Linked DNA regions of Homo sapiens: all the other regions are linked to region 3. The links are contacts of gene promoters, found by promoter capture Hi-C in blood cells and fetal thymus (Javierre and others, 2016). All regions are on one chromosome and are shown on one strand. The core of a region is centred on a gene start or on the middle of the fragment in contact, and the rest is flanking DNA. Distances in the headings are between cores, read along the strand shown. Region 1 overlaps MARCHF1 (membrane associated ring-CH-type finger 1). Region 2 overlaps TMA16 (translation machinery associated 16 homolog). Region 3 holds the start of MSMO1 (methylsterol monooxygenase 1). Region 4 overlaps MARCHF1 (membrane associated ring-CH-type finger 1). Region 5 has its middle 1.4 kb from the start of TKTL2. Region 6 overlaps MARCHF1 (membrane associated ring-CH-type finger 1). Region 7 holds the start of TMA16 (translation machinery associated 16 homolog).

Evidence for each region. The method cuts DNA at HindIII sites, captures the fragments that hold promoters and counts their contacts. A CHiCAGO score of 5 or more calls a contact.
Region 1: a contact is called between a fragment that was not itself captured here and the fragment with the promoter of MSMO1 in region 3, in 7 of 17 cell types (M0 macrophages, total B cells, naive B cells and 4 more). The highest score is 20.7, in M0 macrophages.
Region 2: a contact is called between a fragment that was not itself captured here and the fragment with the promoter of MSMO1 in region 3, in 6 of 17 cell types (total B cells, total CD4 T cells, naive CD8 T cells and 3 more). The highest score is 8.8, in total B cells.
Region 4: a contact is called between a fragment that was not itself captured here and the fragment with the promoter of MSMO1 in region 3, in 5 of 17 cell types (total B cells, total CD4 T cells, naive CD4 T cells and 2 more). The highest score is 8.8, in total B cells.
Region 5: a contact is called between a fragment that was not itself captured here and the fragment with the promoter of MSMO1 in region 3, in 4 of 17 cell types (monocytes, total B cells, naive CD8 T cells and 1 more). The highest score is 9.3, in monocytes.
Region 6: a contact is called between a fragment that was not itself captured here and the fragment with the promoter of MSMO1 in region 3, in 12 of 17 cell types (non-activated CD4 T cells, total CD4 T cells, fetal thymus and 9 more). The highest score is 22.4, in non-activated CD4 T cells.
Region 7: the fragment with the promoter of TMA16 here is called in contact with the fragment with the promoter of MSMO1 in region 3 in 3 of 17 cell types (naive CD4 T cells, total CD8 T cells and total B cells); the score reaches 5.5 in naive CD4 T cells.

What each region holds. Positions count from the first base shown.
Region 1 is chr4:163,592,650-163,595,593 of GRCh38, forward strand. All of the region lies in intron 7 of MARCHF1 (membrane associated ring-CH-type finger 1), which reads right to left. Among named protein-coding and RNA genes, the nearest start is that of TMA16, 99 kb to the left of the region's middle. The HindIII fragment of the contact is 4,571 bases long and covers 1-2,944 here.
Region 2 is chr4:163,515,621-163,518,644 of GRCh38, forward strand. It overlaps TMA16 (translation machinery associated 16 homolog), which reads left to right. Exons shown (of 7, transcript NM_018352.3): 6 at 1,814-1,856. Among named protein-coding and RNA genes, the nearest start is that of TMA16, 22 kb to the left of the region's middle. The HindIII fragment of the contact is 9,289 bases long and covers 1-3,024 here.
Region 3 is chr4:165,326,255-165,329,336 of GRCh38, forward strand. MSMO1 (methylsterol monooxygenase 1) reads left to right here and starts at 1,415. Exons shown (of 6, transcript NM_006745.5): 1 at 1,415-1,510. RefSeq lists a silencer at 1,014-1,353 and an enhancer at 1,444-1,713. The HindIII fragment of the contact is 2,277 bases long and covers 1-2,247 here.
Region 4 is chr4:163,533,370-163,536,433 of GRCh38, forward strand. The region is part of intron 9 of MARCHF1 (membrane associated ring-CH-type finger 1); the gene reads right to left. Among named protein-coding and RNA genes, the nearest start is that of TMA16, 40 kb to the left of the region's middle. The HindIII fragment of the contact is 2,117 bases long and covers 711-2,827 here.
Region 5 is chr4:163,473,789-163,476,530 of GRCh38, forward strand. No RefSeq gene overlaps it. Among named protein-coding and RNA genes, the nearest start is that of TKTL2, 1.4 kb to the left of the region's middle. The HindIII fragment of the contact is 1,333 bases long and covers 696-2,028 here.
Region 6 is chr4:163,554,258-163,557,033 of GRCh38, forward strand. All of the region lies in intron 8 of MARCHF1 (membrane associated ring-CH-type finger 1), which reads right to left. Among named protein-coding and RNA genes, the nearest start is that of TMA16, 61 kb to the left of the region's middle. The HindIII fragment of the contact is 782 bases long and covers 956-1,737 here.
Region 7 is chr4:163,493,130-163,495,958 of GRCh38, forward strand. It overlaps TMA16 (translation machinery associated 16 homolog), which reads left to right and starts at 1,561. Exons shown (of 7, transcript NM_018352.3): 1 at 1,561-1,675. The coding sequence starts at 1,673. It overlaps LOC124900805 (a long non-coding RNA gene), which reads right to left and starts at 2,095. Exons shown (of 2, transcript XR_007058354.1): 1 at 2,033-2,095; 2 at 1-1,767. RefSeq lists a cis regulatory region at 1-170 and enhancers at 1,452-2,354, 1,818-1,957, 1,988-2,137. The HindIII fragment of the contact is 17,381 bases long and covers 1-2,829 here.

The DNA.
Region 1 (2,944 bases), core at 26-2,525, 1.7 Mb before region 3:
AATGGATTGGGAAGATTCTATTGGAATTGCTTCTCTTGGGTGTCTCATCCCCTCTGGAGATGGTTCGATGCCATTGATACTAGGACTTTAAATTCTGCTTGGGACTGAGGATTCCCACTGAGATTCTATTATCATCTAGCCTAGTGGTTCAGTCTCATAGTGGGCCGGAGCCTCTTTGAAGACTATCTGAGAGGTCTCCATGGGCTCTTGAAACACATTAAGATTCCCCCATTCCCTCTATTGATGTGTGTAGCCCCTAGGAGTCCCAGTCAGTATATCTAGCAATCTTAAGATCAGCTCAGACTGTCCAAATCCTCCAAATCAGGAGAAATCAAAAGCTGGATTGCATCTTTTAGGATAATCCCTTCCCTGTTAACCATCGCTTTACTGCCCTCTCTATACTCATTGGTTAGCTCAGAGGACCATGTATTTCTGCATAAAGGAAATGAGTTCCCCAGTGCCATTTATCTTTCCAGATCCTACCTTACAATTTTGATGACTTGTGGATAAGTAAATAGATAATATATATTGAACGAATATCCGAAGGTTATGATTTTCTCTACATTTGCATATGTCATAAATATTCATTTTATATCAGCTTTGAGGTCTTTTTGGGTGCATTTGTAAGACTGACAAAATTAAACTAGAGATATTTCTAAGCAAATGTGCTTACAGTTATTAGGCTAAATTTTTGTTAGCTGCATACATTGAAGTAAAAAGGCAAAACAAAGGGACAGATAATAAAAACTCATTTGGCTTTAATATGTAGCTATAATCAAAGAAATATATATGGTCAGATACAGGAGAAGGCTTTTGTATATACATAATAACAGCTATCAGAAAAATTATGCAGTTATAACCTTTTAGCCTTTTTCATTTCTGCATGTGGCAGAAATTCTTAATTCAAACTGATTTTCTGATCTTTTTTTTGTGATGGCTAGGTGTTTGAATTTTTCTAAGCTCATCCTCAACCATGACTTCCTTCCAATTTTGTCCACTCATTAATCTTATCTGGCTGAGCATTACATCAAAGAAAGTCTCAAGTTGCCATGGATAATTGACAAAGCAGGCACTTTATTTACAGATAACCAAAAATGCATTGAATTAGAAATACGCCTTTGCATATGAATTCTTCTACAAAGGCAAGTAAGTACAAAATACTGATGTTTTACAGCAGTTCCAACCACATTGAGTGAAGAATGATCAACTTTTATTCATTTATTCACTCATTCATTCATTCATTCAGTCAACAAGTAATTTGTTGCTTATGTATATATGCAAGGTTTTATAAGGTCCTATGGTAAATATAAAGATGAATTAGTCTCAGTCTTTTTCCTTTAAGAAGTTTATATTGACAGTTTATGCATCAGACAACTGCAAAATTAGACAGGATACATTTAAAATGGGATGTGTGCCATGTCAAGTGCTGTTGTATGCAAAGGAGTGAAAGATCATCTCAGATTGGGGACCGGGGGAGGGTAGAAAGTTTAATGGAAGATGTGGCATGGGAATTGGAATTGAAGCTGGGGTAGAATTATGGCAGATGGAGAAGGATGTTGGTAGAATATACTAGGCATAGAAGATGTTTTCAGTCAATGCTTAGAAGTAGGATTGACTGGGTAATTTGGTAACATTATGTGGCCAAGTATGAAAAGAGCATGAAAGTTCTTACTCCAACTAAATACAATATTTAGTATATATTTAGTATATTTATTTAGTATATACAATAATACCACATTATTATTATATGATATAATAATACAATTAATTACTTTAGTAGGGAGATATCATGCTGAAAAATAAAGATTACACAGAGCCTGGTATTTCCCTCAACCAGTGCCAATACACACACACACACAAACACACACACAAACTAACTTTAATTGTATTTAGTTGAGTAGGAACCCACTACATAATTTAAATAAAAAATTAAGATTACATTAAAAAATGAGCAAAGGAGCTAAAAAGACATTTCTCCAAAGAAGACATACAAATGGTCAACAGCTATATAGAAAGGTGTTCAAAATCACTAATCATCAGGGAAATGCAAATCAGAGTCACAGTGAAATGTCACCTCGCACCCATCAGAATGGCTATTATCAAAACACAAACACACACACACACACACACACACACACCCAAACCCAAACAAGATAAATGCTCCTGAGGATGTGAAGAAGTTGGAGCCCTTGTACGCTGTTAGGAATAAAAACGGTGCAGCTGCTATGGAAAACAGTGTGGAGGTTTTTCAAAGAATTAAAAATAGAAATACCATATGAGCGAGCAATCCCACGTCTAAGTATCCAGAAGAATTGAAATCAGGACCTCAGATAGGTATCTGAACTCCCATGTTCATTGCAGCATTATTGACAAGAGTGAAGCTACGGAAACAACCTAAATGTCCATCAACTTATCAATAGAGAAAGAAAATATGGTATAAGCCAGCGAGTGGCTCATGCCTGTAAACTCAGCACTTTGGGAGGCCAAGGCGGGAGGACTGCTTGAGCTCAGTTTGAGAGTGAAGCTACGGAAACAACCTAAATGTCCATCAACTTATCAATAGAGAAAGAAAATATGGTATAAGCCAGTGAGTGGCTCATGCCTGTAAACTCAGCACTTTGGGAGGCCAAGGCAGAAGGACTGCTTGAGCTCAGTTTGAGACCCGCCTGGGTAACACAGTGAGACCCTGTCTTCACTAAAAATAAAATAAAAAAAAAATTAGCGGAGTGTGGTGTCATGTGCCTGTAGTCCCAGCTACTTGGGAGGCTGAGGCAGGAAGATTGCCTAAGCCCGAGAGATTGCAGTTGCAGTGAGCTATGATCATGCCACTGCACTCCATCCTGGGCAACACAGTAAGACCCTGTCTCCAAAAAATGTGGTATATATACACAATGAAATATTATTCAGCCTTAAATAAAGAAGGAAATACTGCCATTTGCTACAG
Region 2 (3,024 bases), core at 327-2,826, 1.8 Mb before region 3:
TTTTTCCCCTACATTCCCAACAAAACTATCAAGTTTGTGACAGTGATGTGACATCATGTCTTTTTTACCGTGATAGTAATACTGATTACTTTCACATTGATCTTGTCAACCCTAACTTGTCTCCAGAACTCCAAATTTGCAGTATCACATATGGATTTCTCAAACTCTCTACTTGCATGTCTTTTGGGCATCTCAGACTTGACATGTCATGAAACAAAGGCCAGCTTTTCTCCTAAAACTTGCTCCTCCTGCAGGTTTCTTATTCCAGTCAGTGGCATTACCACCTGCCCAGTTGCTCAGATCAGAAACTCTACAGTCACTTTCATAGTCCACATCCAACCCGTCAGCAAAGCGTTTAGAATCTGATGACTTTGACTACTACTACTACCATCTCCCACTTCCCTGGTTCAGGCCACTATCGTCTCACCTGTACTATGGTAATAGCCTCCCAGTTGCTCTCTGTACCTCCACTCTTTCCTGCTAAAGTCTGTTCAACATGTAGCAGCCAGATGAGTTGGCAGTATTTATCAGAGCACATCCAAAGTAAACCATTTGTTGGTGATACAGCTAGGACTAAAACTCAGATCTGCTGTGCTGCAGTGCTTTTCCCAGAATCAGGGGATGGGTCTGATGAACAGACTCTGATGAGTTTGCAGGTGTCCGTTTCCCTTTGGGGAAATTGTCACCAAATTCTGTTTTGATAAGATTTTGAGAAGACTAGATAGAACCATCCCCTCTCCCCTCCTTATGTGGTGTAACTATTTCTGATTCATTAAGATTCCTTTACAAATTGTTTTTGTGCTTATTTATACTTTTTAACACCTAGCCCCTCATACTGTTATTCTCTGAAACTATTGAAAAAGTCAATAGACAGTTGTAGCAAACATGCTTATTTTATCTTCTTTATTACTTGATACTAAATTTCATTTAACATTGTATTGAATTGGCCAGATATTGGCAGCAGCCTTCCAGTTTTTGTTGTTCATGCCTCTTGTATTTCACCAATTTAAGTGTATCATGCATATTGGTTTATGATGGAACTTTTGAAATATGGTAAAGAACTACCATATACCTGGTTTTTATTAAAAATGGATTTAAGTTTTATTGAACTTCTTTAAGCAAAATTTTTTTTTTAATTTAAAAAAGTCTTTTTTTCACATTTGGAAAAATGTGATTTTTTTAAACATTAATTCTTGCATTCCTGAGATAAATTCTACCTTGTGAAGGCAGATTATACGTTTGAAAACATTGTACTTTTCACGAAGAAAAAATATACAACCTGGCATGTTATTTTAGTGAATTGACAGTTATACTTTGCCAGGTACCTTTTATTGTTAAAAAAGGACAGGGTTTATTTTGTTAATAGCTTTGGTTTTGTTTTGTTTTTTTTCTCCTGCCTCAGCCTCCCGAGTAGCTGGGACTACAGGTGCCCGTCACCACGCCCGGCTAATTTTTGTATTTTCAGTAGAGATGGGGTTTCACCTTGTTAGCCAGGATGGTCTTGATCTCCTGACCTCCTGATCCACCTGCCTCAGCCTTCCAAAGTGCTGGGATTACAGGCATGAGCCACCGCGCCTGGCCTAATAGCTTTGTTTTATTTCATGGATTCTATGCTAGAATTTATCATTTAATAGGATTTTTCTTAAGTCATCTTAAACTAACCCCTTTTGCAAATTTTTCATGTTAATTACAGCAATACTTCGAAATTTTGTTTTCTGTTGGATATTCTTGCTAAAAATTATTATTTGTTGTACATAAAATTATGTGATTTAGAAAACATTGCCTCATGGAGATAAATTACTTTCTTTTCCAGAGATTCCAGACATTCTAAATGCAAGTAATCTGAAAACATTTAGGTGAGTCTGTCTTGTATTGTTCCCCTGAAGCTGTGTGTAAAGTACCTGACAGGTGAACTTTCTTCCCCTTTGAGTCTAGCCGGTAGAACTAAAAGAAAATCGGGTTTCTTTTAACCTTTTCTTTTTTATCTGACCAAGTAAGAATTTTCTGAAGTTGGGCGTACAAACAGTTGATCTGCACCAACAGGATGGTAACCTGGTGTGCTTTTTGTTTTTCAAAATGGTTTAAGATACATTGTTATAGTACCTCAAAGTATGTGATCTCACTATTCCTCCCCAGTTTTATTTTTTTAAAAAAGAAGTAACAGCAACAGACGTGATGGCTCAGAGTCATATCCCCAGGCTGTTCTGTAGCAGCCTCTTTTGCAGAGAAGATGGTTATAGGAATGACTCCAGGGAACAGGTTAAGTCATCAAGACCCGCTTTGTCCAGTGGTTTCTAGTTGTACTCTTTTGTAAACTGGGAAACTACCGAGTAGGATTTCGATTTTTTAGGTTTTTTTTTTTTCTTTTTTCAACTTTGATTTTAAATTCAGAGGTACATGAGTAGGTTTATTACAAAGGTGTACTGTGTAATGTTGAGGATTGGAGTAAGAATGAATCTACCCAGGTAGTGAGCATAGCACCCAGTACGTGGTGTTTTTAGCTCTTACCCCTTTCCTTCCCCCAACTTGTATTACCCAGTGTCTATTGTTCCCTTGTTTATGACCTTGTGTACCCAATGTTTAGCTCCTACTTATAAGTGAGAACATGTAGTATTTGGTTTTGTGTTTCTGTGTTAGTTCACTTAGGATAATCTGTAAAAATCCTAGAAGAAAACCTAGTAAATACCCTTCTTGATAGCAGCCTTGACAAAAAATTTATGGCTAAGTCCTCAAGCAATTGCAGTAAAAACGAAGATTGACAAATGGGACCTAATTTCTGCACAGCAGGATAAACTGTCAAGGGAATAAATAGACAACCTATAGAATGGGAGAAAATATTCTCAAATTGTTTGTATTCAACAAAGGCCTAATATCTGGAATCTATAAGAAACAAATGAATCAACAAGCAGTTTTTTAGTTTTTAAACATAGATTTTTATTAATCATTTTGGTCTTAACTAGACCATGTTGAGGGGTCTTATATTTAATGTTAATTGAAATTAGGTAAATTTAAATCCAGTCATTG
Region 3 (3,082 bases), core at 165-2,664:
TTTTTCCCAGATTAACTTCATAAAGTATATAGGCATGGTTTCAGACACCACTGTAAAGGCATCCTAAAGACAGGGCTGACTCTGACAACCAAGGGACAGATCCCATTTCTTTTCATTTGACGTGACCGCTGTCATGATACTTTACAAAGAATGTGTGTGCCAAACATGAGGGATAGACGAATAAGTACAGGTCACACTGAATCTAAAAAAGACACTTTTCAAGAGGGAACTTCCTCAAGGAGATAGTACCTGAATTGATGGGGCGGCATGGAGATGGCTGATTATTCCAGGCAGAAGGGCCAGTTTGAGCAAAAGCATGGAGGAATGAAACAATAGTATTCTGTTTTCAGAAGCTGTATATATTTGACACAATATACACATAATCAAAACATGTGTACGCCGTAAACACAATTTTTGTCAATTATACCTTAATAAAGAAGGAGGAAAAAGGGCCTTCACTAGCCCAAATGATGCCCCTGTGCGGTTTTTTCTTTAAAGGCACCTCTTCCGTTAAGTGAAAGTTTTAGTATATTATCACATCTGTACAGTTTTATTATTAAACCCCAGTACACAATATTTTAATGTTGAGAGATGGTGTAAACTGAGCTTTAGAGCTGCAAAGACCTGCGTCAAGCCCCCGCCCCCGCCCCCGCCCCCGGGCACTCATCGTCCAGCACAACAATTGCAACAACACCTGGGCGTTCTCTGCCCATGTAGCGAGGTCAAGGTCCTGGGAGCCGAACTCTCCCTTGATGTTCAATCTTTTTAAATCTTTCCCAGCCTTTATTTCTCATCTGCAAAATGACGATAATCGCATTTGAAATTCTCCGTTTTCAAAATGCAGGAATTTATTAAAGGATACGTAGGCTGGGGAAACAAGGGAGACGAAAGATCTAAATCTAAATGGTAGACCAGAAAAAGGAAGGCAAGGGTGTCTGGAAACACAAAACAGTCAACATAGATTTTAAGACTCATCTATACTCTCTTCTTCCCGGGTTTGGGAACTGCGGTTGCTACACAGGTCACATTTGAAATAAAAGTCCTGGGACGGCGGCCGGCGCGACACTCTCCCCCGCACAGCGCAGGCTCTCACTGGGAATCTGCCGGGACCGCAGTTGCCAAGGCGACTCCGCGCTGCAGGGCGAGGCGGCCATCCGTCTGTGCCCGCCCCCTCACGCCGTGGCGCGCTCTCACGCTTCCCCGCCTCCGGGCGCTCCGCGGTGCCGACCATTGGCTGGCTCTGCAGGTCTCACTATCCTCACTCCATCCGCGGAGCCAATGGCTGGGACCGCCAGGAGCTCGTTCGCGCGAGTCACACGATGTCGGCAACTGCACAGACCAATCACCGCGCCGAGAAGGCGGGGCGGGAGCTCTCGCAGGCCAATAACGACAGGACGGGCCGCCTGGCCCACCCGGCTCCACCCCCAAGCCAGGCGAGGCAGGTTCCGAGGTTGGAACACCTGGCGAGTCCTCGGTGTCGGTGGCCGGCAGTCATCTCGCGGCCGTTCAGGTGAGGGGGTTGGAGGAGTGGCTCATGAGCGAGGAAGGGGGAGCAGGCGGGCTCCCACCCGGTGCTCCGTGAGATCGAGGGGAGCGGGTTCTGGGTGCGGATGCACGCGCTGGGCGGGACGCTGGCAGTGGTACCCGAGACGGGGCGGAAGGAGACTGGAGTGAAGGTGGGCCTAGGCTAAGGTACGTGCTAGAAAGGATGAAAACGGAGTGAAATTCTTAAGTGATGGAACTAGGCTAGGGCATGTTTCTTGCCCTTTAAAATGTGTTGTCTTCGGGAGACAGGACGTAGAAGATAGTTGCAGCACAGGGTGATAGGCTGGCGAAAGTTATACAAAAGCAGGAACCACTAGAAGGAGGTAAGATGTAGTGTGCTTTGGGAGTAGTGGGGTTGGGAAGGGCGTCCGAGAGGAGGTTACTGAAGGATGACTAGGAGTTGAATGGGAGGACATCACCTGTAAGGGAACGATATTTCCGTGGGCAGAGAGGAATGAAGCAGTAGCAACCATGAGTGATCAGATACTGCAAAAATGTGAAGTGTAGGATGGCGAGAATGTAAGAAATGAAGAGTGAAGAAGTCTGGAAGGGCCTCGTGTGCATCAATCACAGCGGGGCTTGATCTTTATGCTTAGGGCAAGCACTCCCTTGAACTTTGAGTGTTTTAAGGAGGTTATCTCTGATGTTTAAATTTATATAGATCGTGGCATTGCATCTTAGAAATAAGGTTTAGGAAGGGCAAGCTTGGAGGCAGGGCAAGTCCAGAAAATGAAGGAGCTGGTGAAATCCGTGTTAAAGTGCCAAAGGACAGAGACTGGCTGACAGCTAAACTTCAAGGTTTCTGAGAATCCACAAATAACTAAATTTATCTAGTCAACCTGTTCCAGAACAGGCTTCCAGTCATTTAGGTTGCCCAAGAATGAGTAAAGGAAAAGGAAATTCAATTTTCCAAGACCTTGTTTCCCCTCTCCTCTTTAATTCCTTGTTCGGTTAGCAACAGTATATCCATTCCCTCGCTCCTTTGTGAAAAGTAAATTCCTGAATGTTAACTAAACCAAGTGTTTCTAAATTGGGTAAGAGTTTGAAGACTTAAGGCAGCAGAATGGGAGAGACTTAAAACGTTATGTCTGAGAATTAGGCATTAAAGGAGGCCTAGTATTTGGGCGGGGGTTGTGAGGAGCACATACTGAACCTTTGGACCTGTTGAGTGAGTTCATGTGCCTCTGAACTCTCTGACTGGATATGACCAGTAAACTTGGATAATTAGATCCTGGAGTTTAGGGGAGAGGGCTAGAGATAGAGATGATGGATGTCAGCATATTTTTAAAACAGAAAATAGTTAAGATCACCCAAGACAATCTGGAATCGTTAGAAGGGAGTAAGGAAGGCATTATTGGGAAACTTTCCAGCTTCAATTCTCATATTTTTTCTAATCTCCTGGTTGAGTCTTTGGAGTTGCTGTTCTCTCTATGCAAAACCCCTCCCTTGACCCTCTCTCCCTCACTCTATTTTTTAATTTGTCACCTCCTTCTCCTGTTCTAGGTCTCAGTTTAGATAGCACCTTTCTCTAGAAGTT
Region 4 (3,064 bases), core at 519-3,018, 1.8 Mb before region 3:
GAACACAGGGACTTTTTAAGGCGGCAACACCATTCTGTATGATTCTGTAACGGTGGACACAGGACGTTACACGTTTGTCAAAACTCATAGAACTGTACAACACAAAGAGTGAGCCCCAATGTAACTATGAACTTTAATAATGTAAGAATATTGGCTCCTCAGTGGTAACAAATGTACCACGTTGAGGCAAGATGTTAATAACAGGAGAAACCTTGTGTATGTGCAGGGTGGTATGTGGGAACTCTCTCTTTACCTTCTTTGTAATTTTTCTGTTAACCTAAATCTGCTCCAAAAATAGTCTTTTATATATAATATATATATATATATTTATATATATTAGCTCCTTACTTGAGAGATTAGTTCCATGAATTCATCACTGTGTCTAGGTCAGTTTATAGAATTTCTTCGAGTAAGAGATGGGTTTGTGAGCATTTAGGTATTTGGAAATTGGTAATGTATGCATGATATATTTATGGAAACTATTGCACAAAAACACTCCATTTCTTTTTAGCCATGCCCAATGGAGTTTATTGTGCCTAAAATTTGCTGCAGTCTTGCACAATAAATGCTCATGATCTATACCTCTATTTATTTTATCGTCATCCTCAGCTGCCTGATTTCTCTCATCCAGTGCCTTTCTTAGTAAACTTTATCCAAAGTCCTATCTGGGTAGCTGTTTTCCAAACATTGCACATCCTAATATAGGTTTAAGCTTTAGCACATGCTATTCCTCTGTTTAGAGTGCCGCGCTCTTTACAATAAACTTCTACTAATCTTTCAGAACCCACTCCAGGGAGAAAAAGGTGCAATCTGTCATGAGGTTGGCAAACACAGCATTCGTGCCCTAATTACTACCAACACTCTTTCCTGCTAATCCCTATGATAGCTTCATGGTTCCTAACACCACAATCTAGGTCAACTTCTGGAGTTGGCATGAGAAAAAATCTTTTTGCCATCTGGCCCAGAGGAAGAAGATGCCTTTTCACAATATTGCAAATTCCCTACATCGTAGTCCAGGAGAAACCCTATTAATGTTAACTAATTAAATGCTGTTGTTTGGAGTAAAATAGAGTAACTCTGAACTTCTTAATAAAACTAGGAGAAAGACTGACGGTTTCATGTCTCTCCCTACCCAAGTCGCTATTTAAAAAAATTAATTAGTGTATCATGGAGTTAAACTCTTTGAAGGAACAGATTCAATTATCAATATATTTACTTAAGAGAAGATGCTAAAAGATGTTAGAAAACAAATCGTCAAGAAAACAGACCTTTGATTTTAGAAACTTTAGAGTACGAAAATGGACTATACCAGGCATTTATCATTAATCAGTGTCTGTTAGTCGTATACAAATGTTTCCATGGTCCCTTTCTCCTATAGACTTCTTTGATCTTAAGGATAGGAATTTTAAAAATAGAAGTATGCTACTTGGATTTGATTTATTTATACAAATGCATTTGCAACGAACACGTGTTCGATAATAGCACTGTTGTTATCTAGTGGTAATAGTGGTACTGTATCATGTATTCCAATACTCTCCAGAAACATTTTCATTTTAGGATAAAAAATACAGAAATAATTACATACAATTATGAGATGAATTGCTTTATACTTATTTATAAATTTCCCAAGTAACTTATAGACAAATATAATACTTTAAAGTAGTAATAATAATTTTTGACCATTAGTGCAACTTTTAAAAAATGTTGTTCTACTTTGACAGCACTAGTTCCTCATCTAAAGATTTCACAGTATCGTTCATAACGAAACATACGTTCCACACTTTTAACATATTCTAGGTATTCCTGCATATATTATTCATTTTTGGAAAAAAAATTGAGGGGGGTATATAAAAGAATCATTTTTCTTATAAAAAAGTTTTTAAAGAAAATATCAGGCTGATACAATACAAATTGTTTTATTCTTGATTTTTCTGGTGTTCCAGCAAAATAACTGAACTAAAAATTCAGAGTTCAAAGGCCTTTAAAGACCATCTATTTCAATTCTCCCTTCTTCTCCCCCTTTTGCTATTTCATGCCAAAGGTGAGCTTATTACCCAATGATCTTGACCTAGTAATCTTTGATAGTGTTGAAATTTGATTTGTGTATTGCATGGAAATAGCAGTTAACTTGCTATTTTTATTTAAAAAATACTCCAAGGCAAAGTCTTCATAAGTGATTTAAAGAGTTCTGAAGAATAATCAGGAGTATGTGATGATTCTAATAGTCCCAGATAAGTGGCAGCACACATTTATACATGGCTGGACGCCTGTGTCCATTTTTCCTGTATGCTAAGTAACACAGTGGCATCAAACGGTAGTTAGTAATAAAAAGAGCTAAATTATTCTCTATGCAGAGAGTCCATGCATTTGGAATATAGAAGGGCTTTTTTTTTTTTTTCTTAAGTTCCTACTTGGCTGTCTTCATCTATGCAAGGAGAACAATCATCTGAAACACTGACTCAGTGTAGACCATAGGTTCACCACTGGGGGCAGTTTTGTTCTCTGGGGGACATTTAGCAGTGTCTAGAGACATTGTTGATTGTTGTACCTGGAGTGGGGTGCTTCTGACTTTTATTAGAGGCCAGGCATGCTGCTGGACATCCTACAATGCACAGGACAGTACCTTCCAACAAAGAATTATTCAGTTCATAATGTCCATAGTGCTGAGGTTGAGAATCCCTGCTGTGGAAGACAATAACTTACGTCTCTTTATTGGGAAATTTGCAGAAAGGATTTGGAATATGAGCAAGACATCTTGCAGTTCTCCAAATTCAAAAGGATTTTTGCTGTAAACTTATATTAAGCAGTAGTTTCAATGTGTTTAGAAAGCTTTAACCACAGACAGACTGGAGATGAAATGTGCTTTATTTCCCATTTTTAGGGAAATTCTCATGGACTACATCCAGCTTTCTCCTCTGCTTAACCAAACTAGCAGCTGTTCCTTATACATGCCTGGAAGTTTTCCATTTCTGAGCCTTTGTCTCCGATCTTTTTTCTTTCTGTGTTTTGCTTCCCTGCTTCTATGTGTCTACTTGTCCCACAAAACCCATCTTAGAGGTCATTT
Region 5 (2,742 bases), core at 112-2,611, 1.9 Mb before region 3:
CCGCGGCAGTGCTCTCACGTGACCGCCCCGCCCTCGCCTCCCCTCTGCCTGAAGGCCTGAGCTCAGCCACCAGCCGGGGCGCCCACAACGGAGCTTCCCGCGAGACTGAGGAAACGGAAACGTTGGAGTAGCCTGCACCCTCTGATGTGCACCGTTCCCTCTCCCTGTCCACGCCCAGCTGAATGGATTTTTAGTATTTACTTTGTCACGTGCATGTTCAACATTAGGAAGCATAATTAAATTTTTTACCTTTCCCTGTGTTATAAATTCAAGACTAGACATTTTTCTGTGTATTATAGGAAGCGATTTGTCAGGCTGTGCTTTTTTAATGCATTAACACTATATCCGAGTCATCACTCTTTCATATCAGAACATTAATAGAAAGGATACAAAGTCACTTTCAATCTGACCAGTATGGCAATGCTATCTCAACAGAGACTTTCTCAGAGCAACCAAATATCTGAATCTCAGACTTATAGAAAGAAATGCAATGACTAATTTGACCAAAATTTATAGGAAGAACAAATCTGAAACCACCCAATTGCAGAATAGAATTGCAACTCCAGTGTGCCGTAAAGTACTATTTCTGTGTTGAAATAATTAGAAGGCCAGTAGGCTGAGGTAGCTTCAGCTCCATGAGTTCCTACCTAAGGAAAGGAAACCCAAATCAGTGTAAATGATAAAAAGGAAATTTAAGCTTAATCAATCAGAAACTGCCAGCTAACTTCTAACTGGGGACTTTCCACTGGGATGACCCAAATAAGTCTAGTACTCCACTTTAACCAATCAAATATCTTTCCTTTGCTTCCAAATTCACCCTATAAAAGCCTTCTCCTTGGCTCCTTTATCAGGAGCTACCAGATTCATGAATCACTGAATGGTCAAATAAATGCTTTAATATTTTAATGTGCCTCAGTTTATCTTTTAATGACTATTACTACAAATCATTTTTAAGACAAAGTTACTTACTTTAAAAAACTAAATTTGTGGGCCGGGTGCTGTGGCTCACACCTGTAATCCCAGCACTTTGGGAGGCCGAGGCAGGCGGATCACAAGGTCAGGAGTTCGAGACCATCCTGGCTAACACGGTGAAACCCCGTGTCTACTAAAAATACAAAAAAATTAGCTGGGCGTGGTGATGGGCACCTGTAGTCCCAGCTACTCGGGAGGCTGAGGCAGGAGAATGGCGTGAACCTGGGAGGTGGAGCTTGCAGTGAGCCCAGATTGTGCCACTGCACTCCAGCCTGGGAGACAGAGCGAGACTCCGTCTAAAACAAAAAAAACTAAATTTGTGCCATTGAACTCTTCTAGCAGGCCAAGGTTATGGTTTGTCATCAATAAAACAACAATTAAAAAAAACACAATGATAATATATCATACCTTCCCATATTGCGATGTTAAACCTCTTGGTTTCTTGAGCAATAATTCTTACCTTAACTTCACGTTAAAATTAGGGCACATAAGAAACACAATGCCTGGTTCCATCCCAGAAAAATAGAATTTGAATTTCTGGACCTGGAGTCTGGGAAGCTATGTTTCTAAAATACATCCATTGATTATAATGGGTAGTCAAGGTTAATAACATAATCTGGAGATAGTCTGAGACCAGTGGTTCTCAACATTAGTTGTAGTTTAGAATTATCTGGGAAGTTTTAAAAACATCTCATGTCCATGCTGCACTCCAGACCAATTATATCAGAATTTCTAGGCAATAGATCTAGGCGTCAGTAATTTTAAAATCTTCCCCAGGCAATTTCAATGTTCAGTCAGGGTTGTAAACAACTAACTCAGGGGGTGTTGTTACTCTTTATACTTATTATCTCTTGCATTATATCTCAGAAAAATATTTCAAATGTTATTTGCTATTTCAACTAGTTCTATCATTTTAACTTTTAAGGACACATATTAGAATAAATAGTAATAATATGACACTACTGATTTTAAGACTTGTTGCAGGAATGTTGGCATTGGAGAAGTTCTTAAGAGGTCATCATGTATCCATAACTCTCCATGTCCTTTGCAAATTAAAGCTTGTTTATCTTTTTAGACAAATAAAGGAGGAGGAAATACAAGCAGACTAGGCTAGAACTGGTAGTACAGAAGATGGGAATTAGAGAAAAAATAATAATCACAGTAAAATAATAGCAAACTACTACAGGCTGACAGGAAAGTAGTTAATATAAACACAGGTAGCTCACCATTATTTTGGCCAAAAAGAACTCTAATAAATCCACACAATTAGTAAACATGATAGTACAAAAATGATTTATGAGGCAATGTTCCCATGAATAAAAACATGGGACTTCTTAACATTTCTTTCCAAGTTCCCACATTCTTTCACTCATTTAAAACATTGCACAGCTATTTCCTAAAGTATTAAATAAAAAAATTTTAACATTAGCAAAGGTCAATTTTATTAAGAGAAGAATGTAGTCTTGGAGATTTAATACCCTAGATAGTGAGTGTGAATTTCCCTCTATCATTCTGTGAGACCGTGTGAATTTTTTATACTATATAGAAAATAATATTTTATAAATTATGTGTAAAATACTTATAAACCATTCTGAGATTTTGTAAAAGGAACTCTGGAAAGATATATATATATATATATATATAAATATATAAAAGTATATATATAGTAAAATATCTGGAAAGATATACTATATATAAAAGTATATATATTATATATAAAAACTCATATCAATATATGTAATATATATTAAGTTTATATAAAATTAATTT
Region 6 (2,776 bases), core at 97-2,596, 1.8 Mb before region 3:
ATGTGAGGAATACGCCACTAAGAATTGTGACTCAGTGGTGCTGCTGGATGCATGAGAGAGGTGTTAACAACTGCCAGATGAGAAATTGTCCAAATGCAAAGGTATTAGTAGAGTCAGAGGCCAAGGGAACATAGAAGGTGTTGGAAAGAACAATGGAGAGCAGAGAGAGCTGGGGTAGGAGCAGGAGGCCTGGGGTGGTGTGGAGGGAGAGGAGTACAATGTGGTAGTTAGGTCGAACAGGCTAGAAGCCACATGGTCAGAGAGGCTTGGAGCGAAGCAACTAAGAACTCAGACTCCTGGGTTAGGGAGACTTGGGTCAGAGACCCCTGTCTGGCTTGGGTCAAGTAACCTAACCTCCTAATGCCTCAGTTTTCTCATTGGTAAAATCAGGATGACAACAGTGTCTCTTGTATAGAGTTTGCTGGAATTATATGAGATAATCTAGTTAGCACATAGTAAACAGGGAAGTAAACCAGGCATAAATATTCTAAAAATAGTGTGACCAGTAAATTCAAAGCTACCAAATTATTTTTATAAAACAGATAAGCCATTTTATGTTCAGTCAACTAAATGATGATTAAGAATTTCTCTACAAAATATATGCACATTACTTATTACATGCATATGTAAATATATATGAGCCCAATGTTAGATTACCAAAATAATTTTTCTTATAAACCTTGTCTTGATCTCTCACTGGTTTCTTTCAAGATTTTCATGACAGATGGGATTTCCTAAAAGTTTTAAGCAAGATATTTGTAATATAGAAAAAAAGGTGCTGAGTAAAATCATCCACTAGAGGGAGTAATGATATCACGCATAATGATGATATGAATGGAAAAAAGAGAAATGGAAAAATGTTTGTATATCTGTCCTGAGGGTAGATATAATATGTGGGATTTAGGCACATTTGCAGTGGAACTGTTGGGATAAAAGTTAAAATTGCAAATTCCTAAGCTTTGTTCCAGATTTATATCTGGGGGTGTGGCCTAGGAATCTGCATTCCTGGCAGGCACTCCGAGAGATTTTTATATATGCTGAACTTTGACAATTACTTCCCTAAGGAAGGAAAAGTTCAGGGACATATTTTAGAGTGGCATTGTAATATCTGACGGTTTTTCACAGAGTGAATATACTTTCACCTCCTTCCATATCCCCCCAAAAAACTCACCTAAATCTGAGTTGATTAATATCACCATGTAAGAACACAAATTACTTGAAAGTTTAATTAATAGATGCATTTAAACAAAGTTCCTTTAAAAATATTGAATCAATACTTGGTTGTCTGTTTTCTCTCGGAGGTTATGGTGAAAGATATTTTATCACACATTCTGAAAGAGAAGTCAGTATATTACTGCTTCAGGCATGTTGAACCAGCAGAAAATCTACTGAGCTGTGTCCATGAGGATACTTAATTATGGATTGTGGCTTCATAAAGAAAACAAAAGGAATAATTGGGTTACATTTCACAGTGGCATAGTCTCTCTTCCCCAGAGGTTGAAACCCTTGCCGAGCGGACTCTTGGATGACACTGCCATTGATGATGTTTTCCCTGGAAGCCCATTTCTGTTGTGGGCTCTTCGCCTCTTACCTCTTCAGTGAACAGCTATGGCACACGTGGAATCTGCACAGGTCTGTGGTCACTCTCTGTGCCTAAGTGATCATAGCCTTGCCGTTTAGGAGACAGTGCTCGTGTACTAAGCAGAAGCACAGACACTGGGAAGATTAAAAGAGAAAAGCTTTTAAAAATACCCAATTTTACCCCATCATTTTCTAGTTGAAGAAACTGAGGCCCAGAGCACTGAGTTGACTTACCCAGTCATTATTAGATGACATTATTAGATTTTTTTTCGTTCAGGAGCTAATTATTAAAGCATCACAATGTATCGGACATTGTTGTAGGATGCTAGGGAAGAAGACAGCCAAGATTTCTGCTTTGATGAAGCTTATATTAGGGTCCCAATTGTGGAATTTTGTGTAGTTGTTAAAATAGGGAACTGTGTAATTTTCCATCAATAAGAGATAATAGGTTTTGATTTCATAAGTGCTTCTATCCCTTTCTCAATTCTGTTGTGTATGTTTAGAAATGTCTTTCTAGAATATTCCTTTGGGTGGCAGCAAATAAAAAGAGAATCTTTTTGGAACCGTCTATTTGTATCTACCCACAGTAAGCTCATCTACTGACAATCCATTGTTGATGCTTATTCTCATGGGTCAAAAAAATTCTTACATCCTATTTGCACTCTTTAATAGCAGTGTCACATCTGAACATTGTATTTAATGTAATTGAGTTGATTTTTTTTTTTACTCTCGAGAGTCTCTTAGCCACATATACACTTGAAATAAATCATATATATACGATTTATATATAAATAAAACAGAATATATATTTGTACATATATTCTACTCCAGTTTAAATGAGAGCCTGTGAAACTTGAAGTATTGGTTCCAGTTTTGGATATAATAATACTTTAAAAAATAGTGTTTTAGTTACTATATCTAAAAATCCATTTTATCAGTACTTTGATATCAAGCATGATTAATTGGCTCAATATATTACATTTGAATTTGTTTTTGGCACCATACTGACTCAGCGTTTCTTAAGAATTTTGTCCTAAAACTGAAGATTTTTTTTTTTTTTTAAAGAGAAGATTCTTTTGGGGTATAGAAATTTCTTAAATTGTATACAAAATATTGTGTGCATTTATTTTTTTCTGGGGAAAGGTCCATGATTTTCAATGGATTCTCAAAGAAATCGGAGACATTTTCCAAGTTA
Region 7 (2,829 bases), core at 311-2,810, 1.8 Mb before region 3:
CTTCTTTTTCTGTGTGGCAGTTGAAAAATGAAAGTGCCTCAGATTGGTCCCCTTCCTCAACCAATCAGACTTGTGGAAGACCAATGGGAAACCTCTAGAAGGTATTTAAACCCCAGAAAATTCTGCAACCTGTGCTTTTGAGCAGCTTGCCACAGCCTGCTTCCACGCAGTGGAGTAGTGTACTTTCATTTAAAATAAATCTCTGCTTTCGCTGCCTTGCTTTATTTGTGTGTTTTGTCCAATTATTTGTTCAAAACGCCAAGGACCTAGCCAACTACCCTCAACTGTTAACAGCTGCACACACATATCAAGGCACACCAGCTTCACCCTGCCTGGAGCTTCTTCCCATGCCTAGTTTTCTCTTACAATTCCGGTCTCTGCTCAATTATCACTTCTAAAAGAGGACTTTATAGAGACCACCATGTGTAAAACAGCTTTTCTACATGCCCCCGCCAGCTAATTTTTATTAGAGTACTTATATTATTTGAAATAATATTTTTACATGCCTCCATCCCCTGGAAAATGAGCTGAGTGAGGGATATTGTTGGAGTATCCCCAGTACCAGGCACACAGTAGGCATTCAATAAATAGTTTTTGAATGATTACATTGTCTACGGAATTCTAACATGTATGGGTGAAACAAAGACTCTCACATGCTGTGAGAAGAAAACAAAAACTGGGTTGGCAGAGGCCTTGAATATGAGGAAGTGGCCTTTCCGGATAAAGAAACTAAGACTCGGCCGGGCGTGGTGGCTCAGGCCTGTAATCTCAGCACTTTGGGAGGCCGAGGCGGACGGATCACCTGAGATCAGGAGTTCGAGACCAGCCTGGCCAACACGGCGAAACCCCGTCTCTACTAAAAATACAAAAAAAAAAAAAAAAAAAAAAAATTAGCCGGGCGTGGTGGCGGAGGCCTGTAATTCCAGCTGTTCGGGAGGCTGAGGCAGGAGAATCGCTTGAACCCGGGAGGAAGAAAGAAAGAGGGAATGAGGGAAGGCGGGAAAGAGGGAAAGAAGAAAAGAAAAGAAAGGAAAGAGAAGAGGGGCGGGGCGGGGCAGGGCAGGGCAGGGCAGGGCAGGGCAAAAAAAGACTCAGTGCAGGAAAGGACTTGCCCAAGGTAATCTAGTACGTGGAAAAGCGGAGGGCAGGAGCCTGTGCCGTGCAAGAGCTCCGGGGAGCCAACACCGAGCGGCCCTTTTGAGAGGGTCCCAGCCCCTGAGATGCGGGAGCCCGCAAGAGGGAACCTCTTGTCTGAAGAGGTTGCTGCGCTCTGGAGTCGTGCTCTGGGACAGATGGGCAAGCTCCGCTCTTGGGGCCGGAAGCGTGTAGCGTCTCCACCCGGGCTCCAATCCCCAGCCTCGCACTCAGCACCAGGCAGAGTTCAGCCTCCCGCCGCAAGCTCCCTTCCGCCGCTCCCGGCGAGCACGCAGGTCTGGCTGTCCGTTGGGCTAGAGCTTAAAAGCCCAACACGGGCGAAAAAGACGCGGTCTCAGTTAACGGGGACGCTTTAGAGAAACGCACTCGCCTCTCCTGTTCCGGTTGGGTCGGCGCGGGCTTCTCAGGCGCCACGTGGGATTCGGCCCGGGTGCTCTTGTGAGCTGCTGCTCCTGCGGTTGGTGAGATTACCTGGGTCTAGAGTGCGGAGCTGCTCCGTGGCCACGAGGACGTCACCATGGTGGGCCCCCTCCTGCTCCCCCGAACCGCTCGGTTGGTTCCCCGGAAGGCTCTTGTTGAGCAGGCAGAGAGGGAGGGTGCGGTTTCGGGAACCTAGGAGAGGGGAGGATGCAAAGTGTTTATTTTCAGGGAGTGTGCGGGGTGCGGGGCGAAGCCTCTGGGAGGCGAGTCCCAGGCCCAACGCCTGGACCTTAGAGTTCCGCGTCCGAGTGCTGAAGTGCTCACACGTCGCCTTGCTCCTCTTTGCCTTGTGCCTAACTTCTCGCTAGTCACTACTTCCTGGGGGAAACCCGGCACCTTTCCATTGTAACGCATCGAGGAGTTTGGCAAAACTTCTGAGATCGCTGGCCCTACACACCTCTGCCTCTCTGGCCTGGGTAGACTCAGTATGTGGGCTTAGTCGCCTCTTCCTCGGCGTCCGTTCACCTCTCGTTAGTGCCCTGAATCCTGCCGTTACGCCCCCATTCGCTCCAGGGCACTGAAGCAGTTTTGTTGTTTTTATTAAAAACTGAGTAGATACAAAAGAGTGTTACTAAAGCACATTTCAAGTGTAAAGATGAACAGTTTCAGGAATTCTCGTTTACCCATTTTGTAGTTTTAAGAAATAAAACATAGCCTTTGAAAGCCCTGTGTTACCTTCTTTGAACTTTCAGGAAACCTTAAGAAGCAAACATTATCTAAGTTTTGTATTTATAATTTCACTACTTTTCTTTATAGTTACTACATATATTTGTATTTTGAAACAGTATGTTGTTTCTTGCCTATTTTTTACGTAATCGTTGTGTTCTTGAGAGTAATTCTTGCATAGAAACATGCTTTATAAATTTTTTTCAATTAATTTTTAATAAAAGCAAAATTTTAAAAGTTTATAATCTGGTCAGAAGTTACGATATTGTGTCCACAATGTGGCCTCTTTGTTTCTTTTCATTTTTTTCTCTTTTCATTGTATGCCATTTTTGTCTTACAGTCTGGTTCTTTCGTTGTTTCGCGAGTTTTTTGTGCTTTATTTTGATCCACTGCTGACGCATATTTTGTACTTTAGATTGTACACATTTGTGTAAATTCAGTGTTTGCTTGTCACTTTGCTTGTGGGATTTCCAACTCTTTATAGTGTTAGTTTTTTTCCCCTTTTCAGAGTGGAATATGAAAGCAATT